Regions from separate parts of the Homo sapiens genome. Here region 2 is linked to region 1. Evidence: promoter capture Hi-C in human tissues and cell types (Jung and others, 2019). All regions are on one chromosome and are shown on one strand. The core of a region is centred on a gene start or on the middle of the fragment in contact, and the rest is flanking DNA. Distances in the headings are between cores, read along the strand shown.

Region 1 (6,038 bases), core at 573-3,072:
ATGAAGAACTCACGCAAAAACCTGCAGTTGTGCTAAACGTTAGGTTTGGATCAGATGTCATACATATAACTCTTAGCTGTTGCTCGTAAAATGCATAGTGACTTGGTTTCTAATTTTTGGTTCATGACAATTATTGCATAGGTAAAATAGTTGTGACAGTTTGATAAATAGTTAGAAAACGACTAATAGACAACCTAATAAGTCTAATGCATTTATGATGTGTATGAAAGAACAACCTCCTACAGTAAAAACATATAACTGAGCTTATTATTTACCATACTTTAAAATTAATGATTATTGATAATTTAAGAAAAAATGTTAAAACATATTAAATATATTTTAAGGTCTTACTTAGGCATTCTGTTGCTGTTTCTCCCTGAATTTTTTTTATATTTTTCATTAAGATAAATGAAAATATGGAGTATTTAAAAGTAATGCTGTTCTTAATCCATTGGTCCTGTTCCATTATATTCTTTTTAGGCATTCATAATTAATGGTGCATATAAGCAAGAAGTGACTCTATAATAAGAAAACCTTTGGATCCATTAACCTGGCATCCATTTCTAGGGAAGGTATCACTGTGGTCCTGAAAGGATAGCTCCAAGTCACCTGTCGACATTCTTGAGTTTGCTTTGCGGAGAGAGGAAAAGACTAACAACAGAACTAAAGTAGATCCACTGAAGACATGAGTGATAGACAATCACTTCAGAACTTCACATCGCCGTCCAAGAAAACATCTAGCTGACATTTCTTCAAAAAAATTTATGTACAGTATAGTTGTCAAACTGATTTTTCAAAAGCAACTCCTTTGCTTTTCATTTTTCTCAAAGTAAAACCTCAGGGTAGCACATTCCAAAGAAGATACGAAAAAGTTTATTATTATATATTTTTCCACCATTAAATCTAGGGGTAATATCATCTGTAAATATAGTGGAGAAAGTCTGGAGACTTTTTAAAAGGAATTGTAAAGATGTTGATAGGAGTTGGGGAGAGGAATCCTTACCAAGCTCTCTACCTGACACTCCTTATTCAAAGAAAATTCTGCCCTAACGTAGCCCTGGCAGTCCATTTGTGTCCAGGGAGCTCAGTCCCCCTCCACTCTCCAGTGTATAATTCCAGCAGTAAGGAAAATTAAGACAAAGCATTCTGTGCGAGGGAGGGCGGAAAGGTTAAGCAGCGTTGGGGTGCAGTGGAAACCAGAAAAGAAAGTGACCTCATTTTGCCTGAGAAAGCACGATCCAACAAGCCCACCTTTGATGTGGATTTCAGCAGCGATAAAAGAGCACAAAGGGCGAAAGCCGGAGGGAGCAAACTTCCCTTATTCTTCCCCCCGCCCCCTACCTCTCAAGACCACCAGGAACACGCACACGCGAGGACAACAAAGCGTGCGCCCAGGCTGCACGGCAGGCGCTTCCCGCGGCTGGGCCATCGTGCCCTGGGGCGCGCCGCTCCCAACGGCAGAGCGAGGGCGCCGGAGCGCGGCTGCCGCCCGGACCGCTGGGAAAAAGGGGTGGAGGAGCTCCCCTACCTTGAACAGCACAAAGAGCCAGAGCAGAGGCAGGAGGCGGCGGGCGCCGTGTATCCCCGTGGGCAGGTGCCCCATCGCTGCGCGGACGGGGACTCGGGGGCACGGCTGCGCTAGCGGACTCCCCCGGCGGCGGCTCACAATGGCGAACTGGGGCTGCAGCCTCAGACCCTGGGCGCCGAGGTTGCTCCTGGCGAGCGCATGCTGCCTTTCCAGTCCCCCTGCGCCTGCTCCCTTTCCTCCTCTGCGCCCGGGGTCCTCCAAGAACGTGCCAGGCGCTGCTGTTCTTTAATGACTAAGGATGGAGAGGGTGGGGATTGGAGTGGGCGAGGCTCTGCCGCCGCCACCACCGCGGCTGCCAGAGGAGGCGCGGGGTCTGTGTGGTGAGCGAGAGGCGGGGACCCCGCGCCCAGCCCGCCGTAGTCCTCTGGCAGCAGGGACACTCTCACTCTGGCTGCCGACCCATAAAATGACAGCAGCCTCCCAACCCTCCACCAGGATCGGCCCGCTGCTTGCTACTGCTGGACAGCCCCCATTGCAGACTCCGCCTCAACCCCTCCCTCAATCTCTGGGTCTCAGGAGTTCTGAGGGGTTTCCCTGACCTCTCTTGAGCAATCCAGGCGCCAGATCCCAGTTCCCTCTCAATCTTCCTACATCTGTACTCAATTGCAGTTATAAAGGATCAATAACAGTTGGGTAGTTGTGACTGTAGAAATAGTGTGTAGTGTGAGTGTGTGAGTGTGTGTGATAGGAAGGGTATTTTCTCTCCTTCCCCACTGCTTCCATTATCTCCATCCCATTTCAACACTCTCACCGTCTCCGTCCCACACTCACCCAGGAACAAATAGCACAATTATGCACCTTTTCCATTTGAAATCCGCAGTTCTTGTACATTTCAGATTCTCTTTTGATACCAAAGTGTGTCGGGTCACCTGAAGCTGAATATAGAAGGGGGAAAAATCACAGTATTTTACATGTATGACCCTTGAACAACACGGGTTTGAACTGTTGGGTCCAGTTATATGCAGATTTTCTTCCACCTTTGCCAGCCTTGAGACAGCAAGACCAAACCCTCTTCCTCCTCCTCTGCCTGCTCAGCCTGAAAAGGATGACGTTAAAGACTTTTATGATAATTCACTTCCACTCAATGAATATAAATGTATTTTCTCCTCTTTATGGTTTTCTTAATAATATTTTCTGTTCTCTAGCGTACTTTATTGTAAGAATACAGTATACAATACATACAACACAAAATGTGTGTTAATCAACTGTTTATTATGTTATCAGTAAGGTTTCCGGTCAAGAGTAGGCTATTAGTAGTTAAGGTTTTGATGAGTTCAAAGTTATATGTGGATTTTCAACTACGTGATTCTCTGTGTTGTCCAAGTGTCAACGGTATGTACAGTTATATTTTTAAACAATTATCTGTGAATAATTTTACTGGGATGTTTTAGAATCACAAGCAACGACTTTCAAGCTGTGGGTCCCCAATCTACTACTTGTCTCCTTTTTTGTTATGTGTATTTTTTTAAAGATAAGTCTGTCGAAATCAACTCTGGTATGCACTGTTCAGATAGAAATCATTTCTTATTGTCATGTAAATTACCCTTGCTGTGCCCTGTCAGTATTGGAACTTATTTATACCTGAGACATGCTTGGGCAACAGGAGACAGGAAAGGCCACCCTGGTCATGAATGTAGGTGTTCAGGCATAGACTTTGTCAGTCACACAGCTAGGGAGTGGTGGCCTGAGAAAAGGATCCAGAGCTGTGTTTACTCAGCTTTTGCTGCATGAGCAATGGCCAAACACTAATCATTTGGTTGTTGTTTGTATGTGTCTTAAGGAAGCTTTAGATTGAATATGTTTACATAAGTGTGAATATGTATATATACACATGTGTACATGTACACATATGTGTACATGTACATATGTGTACACACATGTGTGTGCATGTACATATGTGTACACATATGTGTGTGCATGTACATATGTGTGTACACATATGTGTATGTGTGTACATAGATACATATGTGTATGCATACGTATATGTATATGTACGCATATGTATATGCATGGTACATATATGTATATATGTACCAAATTTCATATGCATGAAATATGTACCAAAATTCATATGCATGAAAATATAGAATGATGGTCTGAATTTTTGTGAGAATATTATCCTTGGTGTCTTCTTTTAGAAGCTTCTTTTGTTTTCACATTCCCATCACATGCTCTCTTCAGGTCCCTCATGTCCACTCATCATTGGTTTGGACATTTTCTTTCTTTTGAGAAAATGTTAACTGCTCCTCCCTCCCTCTGGGTTAGACTTACGGGCTATCTGAACATTTAATCCTTGGGATTGCACTTATAGGAACTTTGGTTTAATATGTTTTCTTTTTATTTTGACGCTCCTGAAGCAGCATTTTATTCCCACTCGCCCTCAGAAGTGGCTGTAAAGTGATCTAATCTCTAGAACATAAGATATATATAGGCCAAGGGCAACAATCACACTCACAGGATGCCAACAATTTCTCTTTGGAGTAGCATTTAATTTTAAAATGTGTCTGTGAATTATGGGTCTGTATGATGATATTCATTTGTGTGTATGCATATGTCTGTGTGTATACATGGATATAGCCTTGCCTGATGTGCGTAGGGCGTTTAAAGCAGTTCTGATCATAAATTAATCTTGTAAATGCTAAAAGAACTTTCACAATGAGGCTCCCTTTTAAATAATCATATTCTGCTGCGTCTTTCTGTTTTTCTCTTAGTCATACATCACAATTTGTTCAGCTCTTTCTGTCTTTGTGCATATATATATATATGTATATATATATATATATATATATATATTATGTGGACCACTTTGGAGGAACAATAACAGTAAACAGTAAGTAGTAAAGCATTAGTAATTGGCATTGTTGTTATTTTATTAGTAACATTGTGGTTAGATGGGCTGAAGACTGAAAGTATTATTTTATAATCACAGAAAATTTCCTCTCTAGAGAAAAGTATTTTACATTGCTATTGCTGGATAAAATACTTTCATTTGTTTTTATTGCACTTAAACCATAACAGTGTCCTAGAAGAGATTCTCATAAAGAATGTGAATGCTGTGTCATCCACAGTGTGGGGTTTTCAATTCATAGAGCATGTTTTGTGTTTCTTTGAGCTATTGACTGGTTTTTCAATACAATACTTCCAAAGTATGATAAATCTTATTATGCTATTTTCAAGACTCCAAATCAACAAAACAGCCAGGGGCAACATACAGTGCATATAGTAATTTATGTTTCACCAATTGCTTCTACATATTGGTCCAGATTTCATTATGACAACCACATTGTTAGGTAAAGAAGGCTGAGATCATTATCACCAACTGTTTTCCCCTAATGCTACTTTTCCTGGAGAAAAAATAAACACAGAAAAATAATAATATCTCTGACATGCCATAAAACAAGCATTGAAAAATAAGTTCTCACAAATTGAAATAAAGCTCTCTACTTCCTTTGAAAATTATAAAAAGGTGGTTAATGATCATGAAACTGGAAGGTCTTTTTAAAATCTATAGGAGGCTTAGTTTTTACCAAGAAAAGCGATCTTTTCCTAAATATGTAGAAATGTATCTTTGCCTACGTGGTTCACATCTATCTCTTCTATAGAAAAGCAAGCGCAGACACAGAGAAGCAGCTAGAATCCCTGTGAGAGGTTTAATGAGGAGTCAAATGGAACTCTTACGGTGCCCTTGCCAATGAAGCTCAATTCTGTCCTCCAGGGACAACCTCTAATGTAGTTGAGTGTGTTTAGTCCTGGCTTCCACTACTGAAATAGCCTACAAGGCTGTCAGCAGTTTCAGTATTAGATAATTGTATTTATGGGGGATGCTCAATGACAAATAATTTACTTTATATGGAATAGAAAGAAAAATTCAAGCAATTGTTCTCTAGACTCTATTCCATTGGAAAAGTAATAGCCATTCAGTTTGTTGTCCATATCTCACATGTTACAATTTTTATAGCATATGAACTGTAGATTATCTGTATTAAGCTCTTGGAAGAAAATGACCAGGAAGCATTTTGATTTTCTATTTATTTGAGCATTTGTTTTAATTTTTTCTCTTGATGAGCACTGGTTTCTCACCTAAATGATGTGTTGACAATTCATAAGTTTTGTGTCTTTCAAAATGAGAACGATTGACAGCCCTCAGGTGAATGGCATGTTCCAACTGCCAAGACTTATTACTCTTGCTGCACTTGAAAAACAGTGGAAATACGCTAAAGAAGGTCATTTTTGCTTTTACTTGGAGAGTCTTTTCCCATTATATTCCCCTCTCCCGCCGCAAAAGATTCCTATTAAGAGACCTATCTTACTTGTACTTGACTCTTACATGTCTTAAAGAAAATCAAATAAGAATATTGCATTACAAGATATGTCTTACAACACAAAATTATATACTTAAAGAAATAAGGAAACATACATAGAAAGTGTGAGCAGATATGCAGATATATAT
Region 2 (6,842 bases), core at 3,218-5,717, 43 kb after region 1:
ATAAGTAGTAATATGTTGTATTTCTATTTTTAAAAATATTCAAAATCCATCAAAACTATTTGGGATATTTTTGATATAGGTTAAATAATAAATTTATGGCTGTATTTTTAAGCATGCAGATATGAGAGTTTTCGTAAGTGACATGATTTTCAGCAACAAAATCACATAGTGATCCAAACATTAGCTGATAGCAGTTCTCAAATATATTTTGCATGACAAGTCCCTTTAAAAACAGGTAGGTTCTGATTTGCATTTCTCTGATGGCCAGTGATGATGAGCATTTTTTCATGTGTTTTTTGGCTGCATAAATGTCTTCTTTTGAGAAGTGTCTGTTCATGTCCTTCACCCACTTTTTGATGGGGTTGTTTGTTTTTTTCTTGTAAATTTGTTTGAGTTCATTGTAGATTCTGGATATTAGCCCTTTGTCAGATGAGTAGGTTGCGAAAATTTTCTCCCAATTTGCAGGTTGCCTGTTCACTCTGATGGTAGTTTCTTTTGCTGTGCAGAAGCTCTTTAGTTTAATTAGATCCCATTTGTCAGTTTTGTCTTTTGTTGCCATTGCTTTTGGTGTTTTGGACATGAAGTCCTTGCCCATGCCTATGTCCTGAATGGTAATGCCTAGGTTTTCTTCTAGGGTTTTTATGGTTTTAGGTCTAACGTTTAAATCTTTAATCCATCTTGAATTGATTTTTGTATAAGGTGTAAGGAAGGGATCCAGTTTCAGCTTTCTACATACCATCTCACACCAGTTAGAATGGCAATCATTAAAAAAGTCAGGAAACAACAGGTGCTGGAGAGGATGTGGAGAAATAGGAACACTTTTACACTGTTGGTGGGACTGTAAACTAGTTCAACCATTGTGGAAGTCAGTGTGGCGATTCCTCAGGGATCTAGAACTAGAAATACCATTTGACCCAGCCATCCCATTACTGGGTATATACCCAAATGACTATAAATCATGCTGCTATAAAGACACATGCACACGTATGTTTGTTGCGGCATTATTCACAATAGCAAAGACTTGGAACCAACCCAGATGTCCAACAATGATAGACTGGATTAAGAAAATGTGGCACATATACACCATGGAATACTATGCAGCCATAAAAAATGATGAGTTCATGTCCTTTGTAGGGACATGGATGAAATTGGAAATCATCGTTCTCAGTAAACTATCGCAAGAACAAAAAACCAAACACTGCATATTCTCACTCATAGGTGGGAATTGAACAATGAGATCACATGGACACAGGAAGGGGAATATCACACTCTGGGGACTGTGGTGGGGTGGGGGGAGGGGGGAGGGATAGCATTGGGAGATATACCTAATGCTAGATGACGAGTTAGTGGGTGCAGCGCACCAGCATGGCACATGTATACATATGTAACTAACCTGCACAATGTGCACATGTACCCTAAAACTTAAAGTATAATAAAAAAAAAACAAAAAAAAAACAGGTAGGTTCTCACTCTTTGTTAAAAAAAACTCACCTTTACCTTGAAGGAATAGATTATATATTTATTTTGAGAAATATATCTTCTGGGTAGCACATTACTGAAAATCACTAGTTCTCCCTGAACAGGTCAGCAAATTGGGCTTAATGCAGCTTGAAACATCACTGGAAAAAAATTGTAAATGTTTGTGTGCGTTCTCTGGATGCTCAGATCCCAAACGTCTCACTAATCATGATGGCTCCACATTATCATTTGCAAACATTTCAAAGCAGCAAACACACCTAGCATGAGATTCAAACAGCCTGGATAATTTCAAATCATTTTGGCTTACTTCCTGTCTTATCTAATTACATCCTCATTGTTTTCAACCTTTTGATGTGCTTATAAAGAGATCAAATTAGAAATGGAAGTTTCTGCCAATTTTTCTTTGTCTGTGAATTATTGGTATTATGTTTAGTCCATGTTTTTTGCAAGATGGCATGAAGTCTATGGCATGAAGCCAGCACTGACCCCTCCTCTATACTTAGAATTTCTGCCTTTCTCCCAGCATGCCTTGGTGACCATATGTGACACTTGCTTCTTTTCCATATGAATACATTAGGACACCAGTATAAATCCATATATGATGTGTTAGAAAAGCTTACTTTCTTATTTTTTAAATTTAAAATATATAATTAAAAGTTCTTATATTTTGGTCCACATTCCACCATGGAGAGAGGATTGGCTTGGCTTTAAGGTATAATGTCTCTTGTTGATACACTCAGCTAAATTAGAGAGCTACAAGAAAGGACAGAATTAGACTCCTAAGGCTATAGCTATTGAGTAATGGAAGCAGACAGATCACTCAGGCAACTACTGTCACAATAACGAGCCTTTAAGAAGAAAACCTTCTGAGAATGAAGGGACATATAGGGATTGCACTTAAAAAAATTAAACTCATGTAACTACTACTGGAATATATAACCAAATCTCTTGTAAAAGAAAACTCCTTGCCAGTTAAAGAATAAGACCAAATTGATGTACTTTCCTGCATCAGAGAAATCCTATACCCAGTACCAGGAAATTCTATGCACAGATATATTAATCGATACATTAATGGAGCTGAAGTTCTGCTGTCAGCAGATCTTGTCATTCAATGAAGCATGTCCAGGTGGATAAAAACATGAAGAATTACTTTCTAAAGAACAGGTTTTAGTTTTGGAAAGAATTTTATGACAGTTAAGTAGGTTTTTTTAATACCAAGCTTGCACTCATTTCCCTGATTTAGAGGTGCAATGTTTCTGTAGTGTCTAATTTTAAACTTGTCCTGTCAGGTTTGAAATGTATGATTTTGGCAACCTTTGCAACTGTGCAAAGCATGTATTTCAAGATACTGTGGTCTTTAGGCTTCTACTTCCTCAGTACTAGATTGTTCCCAAAAGAATGTATGAAGGATGAATGGATCAGAAAAGACATTACGCTGGAGATGAGAATCAAAATCCTGACTCTAAAGTATTTTGTTGACAGTTGGCTTTTTACCTTCCACATTGAAATACTCTTTGTGAGGGTCATGCGGTTTAACTCATTGCTACAACTTGGAGGAAAATGTGCAATGTCAAGCATTCCTGTATGGTCCAAAACCTGCCATAATGGCTGCCAATGGCTCTTCCTTTTCTGAAAGGAGTATCTGAGTTTCATGATGTCAGATAATCATCCTTGCAATAGGAAATTCAAGTTTCTGGAAGCTCCTCTTTCCTTGCAAGTCACTGTCAATTCAATCATTGAGTAAAGTGTTCCTGTGTGACAGGAGCAGATTAGCAGATGATCCCAGAAAAATCTAAGCACTGAAGATAGAATGCTAAGGATTTTTTAATTATTTCTTTATTTTAAAAAATTGATACTTCTTTCCTCTTTTTACGTCATGTTTCACTCATCCCCCTTAGAACTATTGGCAAGATCATGGGCTAAGAGAAAATTTAAAAGTATTTATTGAATTTAGAAACATCAGCAAGAATTTATTCTACCTTCAATATGAGATAGCTCTGTAGCAGTACTATAAAGTAGAATAACAGATTTTACAAACCATGCTTTTCATTTTATGATGTTTTTAAAGATGTGGTTCATGTACATATAATTCATGGTGAAAGATGGAATAATTTTAAGTTATACATAGATTAATGCCCATATGTAAATGTATATACACACATTATTTCACTGTGTAATTGGTAAATCTCATTAGTGCCTCAAAATCAGGGTTGCAGAATTATGATTTTTTTAGGGTAAGGCTAGTTTTTTGAAAAAGGAGTTAGTTTGAAAACTACTTACAAACAACTGTTAGGTAAATAGCTGTATAAGCAATATGCAAATATGGGAAAATAATGTAGGCAGTGTGTATGAATAGCTGAGATTGGGGAAACTGCATTGTATTGCTCTGGTGGCGTGTGTTTACTATAAGGTCTTTGCTGACAAGGATTTTACATGCTGTTTTAGGCCAGGGTTCTGAGAAGCAGAGCCTGAGGCAGGGATTTTTGTCCAGGTGAATTACTGAGGGAACACTTTCAGGACAAAGCTATAGGGGAGGAAGGGAAGCAAGATAGGGCAAGATAAGCTAGGTAAATCAAGGTTTTAGGAGAATATTAGCTTCAGACTGATCCCCCAAGGAATTTTGATGTTTAAATGCAATAAAAAGTTTGCGTTGCCCATGGGTGAGGTGGCTGAACTGTTGTAACCTCACTTCAGTCTGCCACAGGCCATAGGACACTTGTGGGATTAGTACAATTTTTCCAGTCATGTCCTGGTAAGGTGGCAATCCTCTGGAACAGTCACAGCGACTGGTTGATGAGTGCACTGGCCTGGTAAGGGAATCTGGACAGGACACCAGGAGTGTCTGCAATGCAATTTTAGGAGAAAAAAAATACTCAAAAGAATAGTAAACACCCCAAATACACTGAGATCGCCAACTGTTAGCTCTTAATTCAGGAGGACTTTGGAGCCAACTAGCAACAATGATATGTCATTTGTGGGAATTCCTGGCAGCAATCCTTAGGGTCATCTTAACCCTCTCCATGATGTTTTCACGTTTTCTATGCCAGCCTTCCTGGGCCTGATGCATCAGGTGACATTCACTGTGTAGTAACCTGCTGGAGGTCGGAGACTGGCCTTATCTGATGGATACCTGCCCTGGGTGTTCCATGTATGTGGTCCTACTAGCTTTATGCACTCTCAATTCCATAGAGCCATCACAAAAAAGAAATATTTCCTCTTCCTTAGATAGTATATCAGACAGAGATTAAATGTACATAATCAGTTAGTTGTGGCAGGCACTTAGAGGAGAGAAAGATTAGGTTTCAATTTGTGGGAGACATGGCTTCCGGCAATGGCTGGCCCACTACAGGGCATGCCAATTCATTGCAGTTGACCACATATTTCCGCCTAATATCTTGTGAACACAAACCGGATGCATCTGATTAAGTGCTCCCAGCTCTGGCTGTAATAAGTGGCTCGCTGGCAGTGTGCCTCCTTCCAGCTATTCTGGGAGCTGGGCTTGGAGCTGCTGAGATTTGGCATGCGCACCTCAGAGGCTTCCTCAGCTGGGCCAGGTGCCTGGCAGCACTCCTCTTCATTATTTTATTCTGTCTCCTTGTAGCTTCTCCCCACAACCCCACTTTTCCCTCTAAGCCATGCCTTGCTCAGCAGACCTTGCCTCGCTTTGTTCCCCATGGACTCTACATATCTTCTTTTGGCCTGGCTGCCTGATTTGGAGCAGTGCAGAGAGCCCCAAGCCAGGATCAGCTGGAGCGCCACTTGCAGTGAGCACGTTTATTAAATTTGGTCAACGACAGCCAGTTCAGGTCCCTGGCAAGCAAGCCTGTACAAAGTATTTCCTGTTGGAGATGATGATAGATGGTTTAGTGATTAACAACACAGACTCTAGAGCCAGACTCACGCATTTTGGCAATGTCACTTATTGGCTATGTTGCCTTGAGCAATTTACTGACTTTCCCATGACTCAGAAAGATCATCTATAAAATGGGAATAATAATAGTATCTCCTTCATAGGGTTGCTATGAGGATTAAATGAGTTGTTGCATATAAATGAGTATGAATAGGTCCTGGCACATAGAAAAATGCTGATGAAATATTAGCAACTTTTATTAGCATTATTTATATAGCTAATGTAATTTTTATTATTTAAGTATCTCACTTCTTCTAAGCAACTGAAGGTCTCTAATATTGTAGCTGAGGAATTCTCATTATAACTCTGTGTTATTATGTTCTATCTTGTCAATAACAAAATTGCAGCACAAAGAAATTGACCTTGTCTCACATTAAAGTACTAATTTTATTCAGTAATTTAAAAAAATGAGTTTGACTTATTTCTAATAAGTTGGAAAGATACACAAAATATATAATTGAGGAGCAACTGAAAATCAGAAAACAATATGCATGATATGATCATATGATTCCATTTCATGTTAAAAACATTTCTATATGTAATAATGTATGCGGTTATAGTCATATAGACATTATAATGTGGAGAAAATTATTAATCTTTATGATAACTGGCACAGAAATTATTTTTAGGAAGGGATCATCTTTGCTGAAAAGAAGCTTTGAAAAGACCCTTGTACATCAGAAAAGTGCCTCAGCCTGAGGGCTGAAGTTCAAGGGGAAGGAGGCAGAGGCTCAGTATTATAAAGGAGGGCAGTGGGCAGGTTCAAGGCTCGGTGCAGTGTTAGGGAAGGTCAAAGAGAAGCAAATTCCCAACTGGTGGTGGTGGTGAAGGAAGACTTAGAAAAGAATTGCCATAGGGTGAAGAAGACTTCAGCAAATTCTGCATCACTCCTAATGCTCTGTGGAGTGAATTTCCTTTGTGTAGAGTGTAGAAAAATGCTACCATCAGCTTCCAGGTTGGAAAGGGGAAAAGATGGGGTTCATCTGGAGATGGCCAGCATCTGAGTTACAGGTACAGGTACATGGACATGCATATATGAGGATATACACACACAGAGGCACAGACACACACACACATACACAGACACAGACACACACACACGGACACACACACACACGCATCAGTCAAAACTAGGAGACCACAACCCAGCCTGCTGTGTGGTTACATGAACAGGAGTATGGGATTGTACTGTGTAAAGAGGGTTCATAGTTTAAACTCTCTGTCTCTCTCTCTTTCTCCTTATCATGAGGAGCATGTATATATGTTTATATAAAAAGGCAAACAGTGTGTTTCCATGCCTCTTGGTGGAATGCAGCATAGGGCCTCTATCAATCTAGCTCAGGATTTCTGAGGCCAGGAATCCATCACCGTTGCCTTTACTGCAGGTATGAGTGCCGGGGAGGAGCTGGGCTTCTGGGATCAAAGTGTGTCTGTTTAGCTATTCAGCACGGAG

Evidence for each region. The method cuts DNA at HindIII sites, captures the fragments that hold promoters and counts their contacts. A contact is called where the count stands out against the background at its distance.
Region 2: a fragment that was not itself captured here is called in contact with the fragment with the promoter of PTPRO in region 1 in 1 of the 25 tissues and cell types used here (H1 embryonic stem cells).

The regions. Positions count from the first base shown.
Region 1 is chr12:15,318,292-15,324,329 of GRCh38, reverse strand. PTPRO (protein tyrosine phosphatase receptor type O) reads right to left here and starts at 1,822. Exons shown (of 27, transcript NM_030667.3): 1 at 1,529-1,822. The coding sequence starts at 1,603. The region is part of intron 2 of LOC105369673 (a long non-coding RNA gene); the gene reads left to right. The HindIII fragment of the contact is 7,625 bases long and covers 1-3,551 here.
Region 2 is chr12:15,277,489-15,284,330 of GRCh38, reverse strand. The region is part of intron 2 of LOC105369673 (a long non-coding RNA gene); the gene reads left to right. Among named protein-coding and RNA genes, the nearest start is that of PTPRO, 42 kb to the left of the region's middle. The HindIII fragment of the contact is 4,141 bases long and covers 2,397-6,537 here.